Regions from separate parts of the Homo sapiens genome. Here region 1 is linked to region 2. Evidence: promoter capture Hi-C in 16 types of primary human blood cells and fetal thymus (Javierre and others, 2016). All regions are on one chromosome and are shown on one strand. The core of a region is centred on a gene start or on the middle of the fragment in contact, and the rest is flanking DNA. Distances in the headings are between cores, read along the strand shown.

Region 1 (6,376 bases), core at 2,910-5,409, 100 kb before region 2:
ACTCATCTTACTCTCTTTTCCTGAAAGTTCTCCCTCCAGCAGTTTTTCTTCACCCAGCAAAACTCTTCACATCCTTCAATACCCAATCCAAGTGCCACCTGTCCTGTAAAACTTCTGTGACTCCTCGAGGCAAGCAGAGTAGTCCTCTCCGTCAAGCATCCACTGTTCATGTGGGTGCTGAGAACACCTACATGAACTGTGCTGAGAACCTCTGTTCATACCATTATAAGAGCACTGACCATGTACTGAGTTACCTATGTACTGTACTTGTCTGCCCTTTCCATAAGTCATGAGATCCTGAAGGACCTGGCATTACTGGATTTCATAAATGTTGATTGAATGATTGGAATGAGGAAGGGAGAGTTTGTGTAGGTGTGAGTAAGTGCTAATGGAAAAGACATTGAAAGTGAAGGAAAAAGAAAGTGGATTGAATAATGAATATGATCAGGGCTCTTGTAAAGGACCCCTGAGTTACTCCGGTGGTAGCAAACTGGTTCGGACATATGGTTACAGCCTGTATTGATCAGTGACCTAAGTTACCTTAAATGAGGAAAGAGTTTATTGACCCGGAAAGTCTAAGGGGAAAATCTAAATCTGGCCTCAGCCTCAGGTTAAGACTCACATTTCGCCATTCTAACTGGTGTGAGATGGTATCTCATGGTGGTTTTGATTTGCATTTCTCTGATGGCCAGTGATGATGAGCATTTTTTCATGTGTCTTTTGGCTGCATAAATGTCTTCTTTTGAGAAATGTCTGTTCATATTCTTCGTCAACTTTTTGATGGGGTTGTTTTTTTCTTGTAAATTTGTTTGAGTTCATTGTAGATTCTGGATATCAGCCCTTTGTCAGATGAGTAGATTGCAAAAATTTTCTCCCATTCTGTAGGTTGCCTGTTCACTCTGATGGTAGTCTCTTTTGCTGTACAGAAGCTCTTTAGTTTAATTAGATCCCATTTGTCAATTTTGGCTTTTGTTGCCATTGCTTTTGGTGTTTTAGACATGAAGTCCTTGCCCATGCCTATGTCCTGAATGGTATTGCCTAGGTTTTCTTCTGGGGTTTTTATGGTTTTAGGTCTAACATTTAAGTCTTTAATCCATCTTGAATTAATTTTTGTATAAGGTGTAAGGAAGGGATCCAGTTTCAGCTTTCTACATATGGCTAGCCAGTTTCCCCAGCACCATTTATTAAATAGGGAATCGTTTCCCCATTTCTTGTTTTTGTCAGGTTTGTCAAATGGCGATCATTAAAAAATCAGGAAACAACAGGTGCTGGAGAGGATGTGGAGAAATGGGAACACTTTTACACTGTTGGTGGGACTGTAAACTAGTTCAGCCATTGTAGAAGTCAGCGTGGCGATTCCTCAGGGATCTTGAACTAGAAATGCCATTTGACCCAGCAATCCCATTACTGGGTATATACCCAAAGGATTATAAATCATGCTACTATAAAGACACATGCACCTGTATGTTTATTGCAGCACTATTCACAATAGTAAAGACTTGGAACCAACCCAAATGTCCAACAACGATAGACTGGATTAAGAAAATGTGGCACATATACACCATGGAATACTATGCAGCCATAAAAAATGAGTTCATGTCCTTTGTAGGGACATGGATGAAGCTGGAAACCATCATTCTCAGCAAACTATCGCAAGGACAAAAAACCAAACACCGCATGTTCTCACTCATAGATGGGAATTGAACAATGAGAACACATGGACACAAAAAGGGGAACATCACACACCAGGGCCTGTTGTGGGGTGGAGGGAGCGGGGAGGGGATAGCATTAGGAGAGATACCTAATGCTAAATGAGGAGTTACTGGGTGCAGCACACCAACATGGCACATGTATACATATGTAACTAACCTGCACGTTGTGCACATGTACCCTAAAACTTAAAGTATAATAAAAATAAAAATAAAAAAAGACTCATATTTCATCAATATCCATCTTTTAACCTGCTTGCATGCTCTCGCTCTCCCTCACTCTCACACGTACTCTTTTTCTCTTGCTCTCTCTCGGTTGGCTGTTCTTAGGCGACAAATAGTGGTTCCTGCAACTTCAGGGAAATATTGTGACAACCCTTTGTCCAGTGACACAGCCAGTTTGAGTAACACAAAACAAAGGTCCTGGAGTTGAATCTTAATGACTCTGAGCTGGCTTGGAACATAACGCTTGTCGCTAAACTGATCACAGTGGCATGTAGGATGAAATGGTGCAAATTGGCTTAATCTAGATTACCATGATCTACTCCTTGAAGCCTATAGTTGGAGTCAGCTTTATATAAAGGATTCTAGGTGATCTTTTGTGTTTATGGTGTCTGTGTACCATCTTACCTGGAATAGAGATTGTGTTAAATTAACAGATCATCTGACTGAGAGGTTTTTTTCCCCCAAAACAGAAGCAAATAAACATTATTTTGTTCCTTTGGTATAACTTTCATTGAACAGTTATATAGTGCTTTGGAAGTATCAAGTCCTGTGCTAAATAAATGCTGGAGATACAAAAGCCCCTGACCTCAGAATGTCATAGTCTTGGGGTAAGAAAAAATTCATTCTGTGCCCGAGGAGCAAATAAGTTCCTTTAGAGTCCGAGGGAAACTGTACTTATCTGCCCTTTCTCAGATGAATGAGTCCAGAACAAATACAGTTAACTATGCTGCTCTCTTCTAGGGGATCTGCATTTGAGGAGTGGAAATAACTTTGGACTAGGAGCTGAGGCCTAGATTCTAGTTGCATTATTGCCATCTGCCATCACCAATTAACTATAAACTTGAATTCATAAACTCTGTGGCCAGTGTTTCTCAAAGTGTAGTGAGCAATTCATCTGCAGTAGCTTCACCTCAAGTTCTTTGTGGGTCTGGACCCACAGAATAAGAAGATCTTGGGCTGTGGTCTCTGTAAGTTGTTTAATCTCTATGAACTTCTTTTTCCTCACCTGTTAAGAGGATCCTATTTACCTTGCAGCATTTGTTAAAGGATTAAATGTGATAATGAGTAGAAAGCACATGGCAGGTAGCAAGAGCTCAGCAAATACACTTTTAAAAATTTCCTCAGAGAGTATAAAGTCTCTATGGTCCAGAGTAGTCGAAGGATTGCTAGAGGAAGGATAGCAAAAAGCCTTTCCTCGCTCAGGAAGTGTGCCTTCAAAAATGTGTAACTGTTACATGACTCCCACTGTACTCTTGTAATGTTTGCTGTTAACTATTATGGGACACGAGACTGGCATAGTAGCTTCGTGTTGAAATATATTAGGATAGACTTGTACATCATATGTTCAGAAGTGAGATCAGATTCCCCTGTGTCTTTGTGTTTGTTTGAGCTAGAACTCAACCACATCACCACCTGAGAGTTGACAGTTGAAAATATTTCTAAACCTCCAGAATCTTCTATCTTCTGCCCTGACTTTGGTATACCAAAGATAACAGAACTCTTCTTTGATGACTAAGGACTTCTCAAGGTCTCAAATCATCTTTTCTGATACCAAATCTCACGTGCCTTGTGGCTAAGGTTGTAGAAGGGGCAAGACATTACTTGGAAGAGGCTTTTGCGAAACTCCTGGAATAGGCGTGTCCTTTTAACTTCCCGCTTTCTGAAGAGGGTAAAACCAAAAACTGCCAGTAAACCTAGAGAATCCTATGAAGTGAGGTTTATGGTTAATCTGAATCTAACTGAGGTTACTGGGTGATACCTATAATTTAAACCTGTTAGGCGGGTATATGAAGAACATAACAGTTGTATCTTCAAAAAGCTCTTTGCCTTATTTTTTAAAAATTCACCAATAACAAAGACTGACTCTCTCTCTCTCACACACACACACACACACACACACACCCCTACACACCTCTTAGTGAAGCTCCCAGGTGGAGATGTGGTTATTCAGAAGAACACATCCCTCTGTTCTAAGAATCTGAGTAATCTGATTAAATGAGGTGTTACCATATCATGTTTTCTTAGTTAAAAAATACATAAGGGGCTGGGTACAGTGGCTCATCTGTAATTCCAGCACTTTGGGATGCTGAGGTGGGAGAATTACTTGAGCCTATGAATTTGACATTAGCCTAGCCAGCATAGTGAGACTCCATCTCTAAAAAAAAAAATTAACTGGGTATGATGGCGCATCCTGTGATCACAGCTAAATGGGAGGCTGAGGTAGGAGGATCGCTTGAGCCTAGGAGGTCGGGGCTACAGTGAGCCATGTTTGCGCCACTGCACTCCCGTCTGGGCAACAGAGGGAGACCCTGTCGCAAAAAAAAAAAAAAAAAAAAAAAAAAAAGAAAAAGAAAAAAGTAAGTCTCTCAAGATAGGGGAGAATAGACCTTAGGTAGTCTCTTGTCCATCTATTGATCTACTCTTTTTTTTTTTTGAGACAGAGACAGAGTCTTGCTCTGTTGCCCAGGCTGGAGTGCAGTGGTGCGATCTCCGCTCACCGTAAGCTCTGCCTCCCAGGTTCAAGCCATTCTTCTGCCTCAGCCTCCCGAGTAGCTGGGACTACAGGTGCTCGCCACCACGCCTGGCTAATTTTTTTTTTTTTTTTTTTTTTGTCGTTTTAGTAGAGACGGTTTCACCGTATTAGCCAGGATGGTCTCAATCTCCTGACCTCGTGATCTGCCTGCCTCGGCCTCTCAAAATGCTGGGATTACAGACGTGAGCCACCACGCCCAGCCTTGATCTACTCTTTGAGCCCTTCTTCTGTCACACTCCCCAACCTTCCCACCCTTTGTTTAGGCCAGGAGTCAACAAACAAATCCTGCCACCACTTCTTTTTCTAAGCAGTTTTATTGGAACACAGCCATGCCTGTTTGCTTATGAATTGTGTATGGTTGCTGTCATGCCACTATAGAACTGAGTAGTTATGACAGAGAAAATATGACCTGTAAAACCCAAAATATTTGCTAACATCCTTAACAAAGTTTGCTGATCCCTCACCTTGCCTCTTTCTTCAAAATCTCCAGTGTTGAGTATTCTCCAGTTTCCAAGAGACCTGCTTTGGACCACTCATTTAGAAAGTTCTTACGTTCTAAAAAAAATAAAATTTGGTTTTCCGTAGACTGCTCCTGCTGGTACTTGTTCAACTTGAGTATGTTGAGTAACTAAAAATAAATCAAATCGCTCTTCCACATATTGGCGGCCCTTTATATCTTAGAACAACACTATGATCATGACTCCAGGCAGAATCTTGCAGAATCCTGGTGTGATAAACTTTCACGGGCCTTCATTGTCACCAGAAGGGAGCATAACACTCTTGCACAGCTAAATTGTGGCCCACCTAGGTTTTCTGGGCGCCAAGAGCAATAAGAGGAAGTTATAGCCTCATTCTACATGCTTGAAGACCTTGAGATCTAACCCAAAGGATAGAGACAGGTTCATGTGACATGTACTGTCTGTTCAACAGCTAGGAGTGATGCAACTTCCAGGTCATATGTACCCACACTTTGTGGTCTTGATGGTTGTGAAATGGTTTGTTTTCTGACAGAAGGAAAACAGTCACTTCTATTTCATCAGAGATGGGAGTGGCATACCCTTGATCCTAGACACAAATTCTTTTTTCCAACTTTCTTGACAGTAGACCCTATCCATATACTTCTTTAAGCCCCACTGTTAAGTAAAGTGACTTTCATTGTCTTTTGTCTCCGTTATTACTACCCTAATTTAGATTGCCATCTTCTCTCACCATTGCAGACTATCGCAACAGCTTCTTAATTGTTTTCTTGTCTCTTATTTTTTATTTTTCTGGTTTGTCTCCCGCACTTTGCCAGATGAGAGCACAGCATTGGTTAACATTTCTCTGCTGATCTATACTCTTCAATGGCTCCCCGTTACAAATAAAGGAAAGATGAAACTTCTTAGGGTGGCATTCAAGGCTTTTCAGGACCTCCAAACTCTTCCTTTCCTCCCTCTTTTCCATATTGAGAAGACTGTGCCATATTCTCTGAACCTATTTTATCTGTTCCCATGCCCAGGCCTTGGTCATTGGTCATACTGTATGTTGTATTTAAAAAAAAAAAAAAAAAAAAAAAAAAGGTCCTGTTCTTCCTTTCCAAAACCGCATATCAAACCCTACCTTCCTCATTGTTTGTGTTCATTGCTCCTTCTCTCTCGTGCATGTTTGCTTTCTCTCATGCTGTTTCTCTCTCTTAACCCTGAAAGTTTGATTCCCTGCTTCAGTGGTCTACTAGCGTATTATGTCTTTTTTTATGGTGCTTACAAAAAAATCTTCTAGTTTTAGGGATATATATTAATGTCTTAACTTCCTGAAACTTTGTAAATATTGTAAGTTACTTCAAAGGAGTATTTTTGGGCCTTGCCTCTTTATCTGTCAAAGCATTCAACACATTTTGTGTTTGTTTTTACTGAATTCTATACAAGGAGCT
Region 2 (6,562 bases), core at 3,613-6,112:
CATGTCTGTAATCTTAGCACTCTGGGAGGCCGAGGTGGGGAGATGGCTTGAGCTCAGGAGGTTGAGACCAGCCTGGGCAACATGGCAAAACCCCATCTCTACAAAAAAAAAAAAAAAAAATTACATCAATTAGCCAGGCGTAGTGTCTCACACCTGCAGTCCCAGCTAGTTGGGGCTGAGACAGGAGGCTCACTTGAGCTTGGGAGGCGAAGGTTGCAGTGAGCTGAGATCACGCCACTGCACTCCAGCCTGGGTGACTAAGTGAGTTCCTGTTTCAAAAAAGAAAAAAGAAAAAAAATTTTTTTAACTCTCCCTTCAGCCCTGGTCCCCTTTCTAGGCAGTGCCCGTGACAAGGCAGTTGCTGTGGCCAACCTCCCCCACACAAACAGTCCATCCTCCCAGACCCCTGGGATGGCTAGTGGATTTCATATGCTTTCAACCCAGGATGCCAAGAAATCCTGGTACTCAGGCAGCCAAGAAGAAACCCTAATCCATGAGGCACTGGCATCATGTGTGAAGCAAGAGGGCATGGGGGCAGGCAGAAATGGAGTTCTGGAGACAGGGAAGACTCTGGTAGTAGAAAGAGTACTAGAAAGAGTAGAAAGAGTATCAGACTAGGAATGAGGAGTCCTACATTCTAGCCCTGACTCATTGTGTGACCCTCAGTAAATCATACCCATGAGCCTCTTTTCTGTAAAATGGGGACAAATGCTATTAGACTGAACCGCATGAAACCGAATGATCAAATGTTGGCAATTTCATGTTGTTCTACCTAACACCACATAAGCCTGGCAGCTGACAGTTCAAATAGAGCTGCTCCATGAGAGCTCTGATCTCCAAGGCCAGCCGGCAGCCTCTGCTCAGTCCGTAGCCTGGCCACAGCAAGCAAGCCCTGCCCACCTGCCCCAACTCCCACGCAGGCAGTCTGAGGACAGCTGTCACCATGGTCACCAGCAAACCCACTCAATATCTTGCATGCACTCAGACAAAAGGGTTTTAGAGGCTTGCACCTCACCTGGCCCCATCAGGCCAGGGAAGGGAGGACAAGGCCAGCTATCCCACTGGCAGGAATGAAGAAAGTGAGGCTCAGAGAGAGGAACATGGCCTTGGCAAAGCAGGATTAGAACCTGCACTCTGCCTCCCTCAGGAGGGCTGGATTAGCCTGCTAAGCCCCGGGTGAGGAGATGGCCTGTCCATGCTGGCTCTGACTCAAGAGACAGCTGCCCCGCACCAACCGCAGCAGCAAACAGCAGCCATGTCCTCCCCGAGGAGAGCCTGTGTTAAAAGCTGAAGATACAGGTTTTCTGCTTCAAAGTCATGGTGACCTTGGGTGAGCCCCTGCCTGGCTTCTTAGCCTTCTCATCTGGAAAATGGGGACTATTCCAAGCCTACCATTCACAGGGTTGAGACAAGGTATAAAAAAGATGAGGTCCTCATTAACACGGTGAAACCCCATCTCTACTAAAAATACAAAAAATTAGCCGGGCGTGGTGGCGGGCACCTGTAGTCCCAGCTACTCAGGAGGCTGAGGCAGGAGAATGGCGTGAACCCAGGAGGCGGAGCTTGCAGTGAGCCGAGATCATGCCACTGCACTCCAGCCTGGGGGACAGAGCAAGACTCCGTCTCAAAAAAAAAAAAAAAAAAAAGATGAGGGCCGGGCTGTCATGAGTCTATTTTTGGGCCACCTGGCACTGATGGGAGACACAGATACTGTCAGGGAAAGGAGACAAGGAGACACGCACTGCTGATCCTGCTGATTCTCCAAGGCATTTCCTCCATTAGCCCTCCCTGCCACTTCGGTGTTCCCAGCCCCACCCAGGATCAGACCCCTTGACTTCTTGCCTGGACTAGTGCAGTAGCCTCCTAACCCATCTCCCAATTCCCTCCCTCAATCCATCCTCCAACAGAGGCATGTGTCCTAGAGGAGAACAGAGTCCAGGCTTCGAGTCTAGCCCAGCCACCATGGAGGTAGGTGTTCTTTTACCTCTGTGATCCTCGGAATGCCCAAATAGAAGGTGACTACGTGCCCACCCCTTAGCCTTTCCCAGCCAGCGCTGCTGCTCCTCCCAAGCCCTTGCCTCATACCCCTCGCCCTACTGGCATGACAGCCTGAGGGGCGTCCCAGCAACACCAGCACACTCCAAGGCACGCAGTGAGCACTCAGGAAAATCCCAATCCCTCTGCCAAAAGGCCCAGATCCTTTCACCTGTTCCTCTCGGATGACCCTCAACATTTCTGCCGAGTGTTGACTGATCTCTGCTCCTGCACAGTTGAGCCTGACTTATCTCCATCACCCCAAAGCACCCTGTGTGTGTGTGTGTATGTGTGTGTACACAACTCCTATGCTCAGCCCCACTGCCACGCCCTGGGCCCCCGCTCAAGCTTCATCATCCCTCCTTGGTCTCTCCAGATGCAGCATCGTCAGATGGAGCTTATTACACGGTAAGCACCATTCCGTCCATGCCCCTGCTCAGAACTCTCAACACTCTCCAGCCCCTTGGACCCAGAATAAGGTCCAAACTCCTGAGCCGGACATGCAAGCCCTTTCTGTGACACTCAGCTGATGTGGGGCAGGGGTGGAGATGAACTCAAGCAACATTGTTCAGTGGAGACTCTGCAGACATTGGAGCAGGGGGCTTTTTCCTGACTGCTACTTTGCACAATGTCCCCTCTACTGAAAAAGGGCTTTTCCCTCTTCTCTCCTGGAAAATTCTGACTCACCCTTCAATGCCCAGCTCACATGCCCTCTCCTCTGGGAAGCCTTTCCTTTTCCCTCCACAATTCAAGTGTCTAAAGTTCTGGCCTCCAAGGCCCTCTTAGCTATTCTCATCCCTCTGCAGCATAACTGGAATCCATGTCTCTGTCTCCCACCAGGCTGGGACCTCCCTTGGCAGAGGTCCAATCCCCGTCTCTGAGCCCAGTGCCCAGTACAGAACCAAGGACTGAGGTGTCCGTGAAGGTGCGTCAAGCAACTCATGAGAGACATGTGACAGCAAGATGAGAGAAAACCAAAGATGTAACCACAAAAGTACCTTCCAGAAACTGGCCTAACCTTTGGTCCAGTCACCACCCCCTCCTTTGCCCAGGCCTGGTCTTGCATATCAAAAACCCTGAAAATCTTAAACATCAGTCAAGAAAGCCCCTACAGAGGTCACTGGACTGGACTGAGGCTTTAGCCATTCTAGAAATTGTTCAAACAACCAAAGCAAAAGAAAAAGCACAAAACAAAAACAAAACAAAACAAAACAAAAATCTGTTCCTGGTTAGCCTTCAGGTCAAAAGCTCACAGAATCTCCTAGGACCTGAGAAGAAGGCTTCATGGTGTTACTCAACCTCTCCCTGCTCCAGGTCAGAGCAGCCCCTCCCAGCCTCTGCTCAGCACCTAAGAGCTGAGGAGCACATTTCCTCCCCTCTCTGACCCTCGAAGCCAGCCTCCCTCCTTTGACTCCCCTGGGAGCCAGAGCTTCCTTGGGGGTACCAGGCTGCCCCTCCCGACACCAGGTGGTGCCCTCCATCTCTGGCCCCTCAGGTGTCTGAATGGCAGCATCTCTCTAGGTATTTTTTAACTGAACTTCTACCCAAGGCAACCCTGGGAAGAAGTGCTTCACCCTACTCCGGGAGGCCCATGTCTGGGCCACCAAACTGTCTCCTGGAAAGAAAAAGAAAAAAGGGTTTCACTGGTAAAAAGCAGCTGCTCTTCCTCAAAGGATAAGGAGGAGAGAGAAGGGAAGAAAGCAGGAGCAGCTATTCCTCCTCAGGAACCCACCACACACACCTATCCCTGCGGGGCCACCCCTCACAAACCTGTGAGGGCCGCACTCCACCCCAAGCTTTCTGGAAGGAAGGGCACCAAGCTGACACATCAGGGTCTCCGGTTTGCAAGGGCCAGGGCCGTAAGAGGGGGTTGGGGAGGGTATCCCAGGGCCCAGCACACTGAGAATAGGAAAAGCCCATTCCAAGCAATGGTGGCCTCGGGCCCCCCAGTTTGTGCCACCTCCCTCCCTCCAGTGCACCCGCGCCCAGCCCACGCTTGAGCTGGAGGGCCCCACGAAAAGCCAGCAAGCGAATGTACTAGGTACTGGGTGCGAATGCCCTCTTACCTGAAAGGGGAGGGAGCAGGATCACTTCGACATACAATTGATGAAGGGAGGGGATTAATGCCCAGAGAGGAATAGCTACTCGCCCAAGGTCACACAGTGAGGCCCAGGAGGCCCAGGATGCACCCAGATCTCCCGACTCCCAGCCCTGGGCTCGCAAGTCCAGGGTTCTCGAAAGGCCAGGGTGCAGACACCGCCCCCCAAAGACAGTCACACGCCCCCAACCCCCTTACCTCCCGGACCCCGGTGGGCCAGAGCCGGCTGCTGGGCGGGGCGCTCAGGCCGGGCAGGACGAGGCTGGGCCCGGCTAGGTCAGGGCTGGTCCTCTGCTCCCCCCAGGGTGGGGACGCCCTCAGCCAGGTCCCAGACGGAAGAGATGCTGCTTCCACTGCAAAATCCAGTCTTCCCACCCCGCCTGGCACAAGCCTCTATGTATCCAGGAAGCCCGACTCTGCGGCGCGGCCCCGGGGCTGCGGGATGAAGCATGGGGAGGGGCGAGGTGCGTGAAATGGGGCGGAGCCGGAGCGGGGGCCACCCCGCGAGCTGCCACTCTGACCGCGTCCCCTTTAAGGCCAGCCGGCCGGACACCGGCGGGGACGAGGCGGGGCGCAGAGCAACTCGCTGCAATGCCTCCTGGGAGATGGAGTTCGCTCTCGACGCGCCGAGCTGCGAGGAGCCCAGAGAGAACTACCAGTCCCGGAAGGCAGCGCACAGACCCCGGACCGCCACGCCCCTGGGCTGGGCTCCTACCCTCCGCCCCCCTCGCAAAGCTGCGCTGGCCGCTCGCGGAGGGAGAGGCTGCAGAGCGAGGGCAGGAGGTGGGTGCGGCACGGCCGGGGTCGCGGGGCTCGGGGACTACCGGCGAGGGTACGTGGGCCCACTGAGCACCTGTCTTACCATGAGACTAATCTATCCCAGCCTCGCCATTCCCATCTGTGAAATGGGGATGGCATCGCCTGTGGTGCGGGGGAGGGGGCGCGTTTCGGAGCGAGGTGAGCCGAAGTGGGCAGAGCTCTTAGAGGGGCGGGGCTGTTGGGAGAGCAAGGGCGGATGGTGATAGTCGGAAAAGCCCGGATAATGAGGGTCGGGACTGTGGGAGGAGTCCTTGGTGGGTGGGGCAAGGAGAGGCGGGATCTCTAGGTGGGGGTGGGGCACTTGTCAGGTCGGAGTGGGGGCTGTAGGGCTGGGGAGTGGGTGCGGAACAAGCCGATGAGGCCAGCCTGGGTGAGATTGGGGAAGGAAGGGCGGAGACACAGATGACAGGGAACTTGCCCCGCTCTGGAGAGCCCTGGGCCGGCCGCGCTGTGGCGGCGTGGGCAAAAGCCTGTGATGCATAGAACACCTCCCTTTACTGACTGGAAATAAAGAGTCCATCCCCGAGTTCAGTGCGGCACACCAGTGATCTCATTGACCTCCCACGCCCTGAAAAGTAGAGGCGTCACTATAGCGGTTGACAGGTGAGGAATGTGAGGCTCAGAAAAGCGAAGGGACTTGCCTAAAACCACTCAGGACTCCTTACTTCAAAGACCTTGCTTTTCTCCCTGCACTCGGGGAGGCAGAGGTTTAGCTTGGCGTGGGAGGCAGGAAAGAAAAGTTTTGATGCCCCGACCTTCGCAAATTGTCTGGCAGGACCAGTCCCCCCAACCCTTCCGAATGACAGCCTGTAAGGCAGCCCTCCTATAGTACTGTGAGGATGAAATGAGATGGATTTGAAAGCACGGTGTTTATAAATTACTGTTTGGAGGAGACATAGGAAGAGAGCGGTTTGAAATGGGGTGCTGGTGCCGGAGGAAAAGCACAAGGTGAAGCGTGAGAGTGAGCCGAGAAGGTGAAGGAAAGTTCTGGAAGGGGCTGGGGGATGGTAGTGGTTGTTGGAGGTCTACGCCAGATGAAAGAATACCTTGCCGTGCCAGATTCCGTGGTCTCCTTCTTCCAGCCCACCTTTCTCTCCTCCTGCCTTTTGCGCAGCTCATTCTGGGGTCCCTGTGTCTAGGAAGCACCTTTTCTCTCCTCCCTATGGGTTGTGATGGTAATAGAGCAGCCTTCGGATTTCTTAGAGATATGGACTGGGCAAGACAGAATTATAGACGCAGCTCTTTGATGTGGGGTGGTCAGGAAGAGGAGGTGAAGAAAGGGTAGTCGTCCTAGGGGCTTCAAGGCAAAGAGTCCTTTCTCCGGTGGGGTAAGGTGGGGAAGTCTCCCACTTACTGGAAAACACAGTACTCACTCTGAGCATTGTCTTTTTTGAAATTTACCCAGCCACGTGCTGTCCATTCCCTTACGCAGTGGAAACTCTCCTTGCATTTACTCCCAAGTAATCACCTCGGCCTTGTCACATCCCTTTAGATTCCAGATTGAAAATTGAACAGAGCATTTCAAAATTAAAAAGTTTTGAAAATCCAGGTGGGGAAAATGGATCTGACTAAACAGGAGAGAAATTTCTTCCTCTTCCCCTATTCTACGTG

What was found. Contacts are between HindIII fragments. The CHiCAGO score rates a contact against its expected background, and 5 or more counts as called.
Region 1: a fragment that was not itself captured here is called in contact with the fragment with the promoter of KCTD21 in region 2 in 3 of 17 cell types (neutrophils, fetal thymus and activated CD4 T cells); the score reaches 6.9 in neutrophils.

Annotation. Positions count from the first base shown.
Region 1 is chr11:78,289,464-78,295,839 of GRCh38, reverse strand. All of the region lies in intron 1 of GAB2 (GRB2 associated binding protein 2), which reads left to right. Among named protein-coding and RNA genes, the nearest start is that of USP35, 100 kb to the right of the region's middle. RefSeq lists an enhancer at 5,283-5,577. The HindIII fragment of the contact is 9,513 bases long and covers 1-6,376 here.
Region 2 is chr11:78,186,926-78,193,487 of GRCh38, reverse strand. It overlaps KCTD21 (potassium channel tetramerization domain containing 21), which reads left to right and starts at 4,862. Exons shown (of 2, transcript NM_001029859.3): 1 at 4,862-4,915. USP35 (ubiquitin specific peptidase 35) reads right to left here and starts at 4,569. Exons shown (of 11, transcript NM_020798.4): 1 at 4,331-4,569. RefSeq lists silencers at 4,216-4,375, 4,806-5,145. The HindIII fragment of the contact is 4,363 bases long and covers 3,833-6,562 here.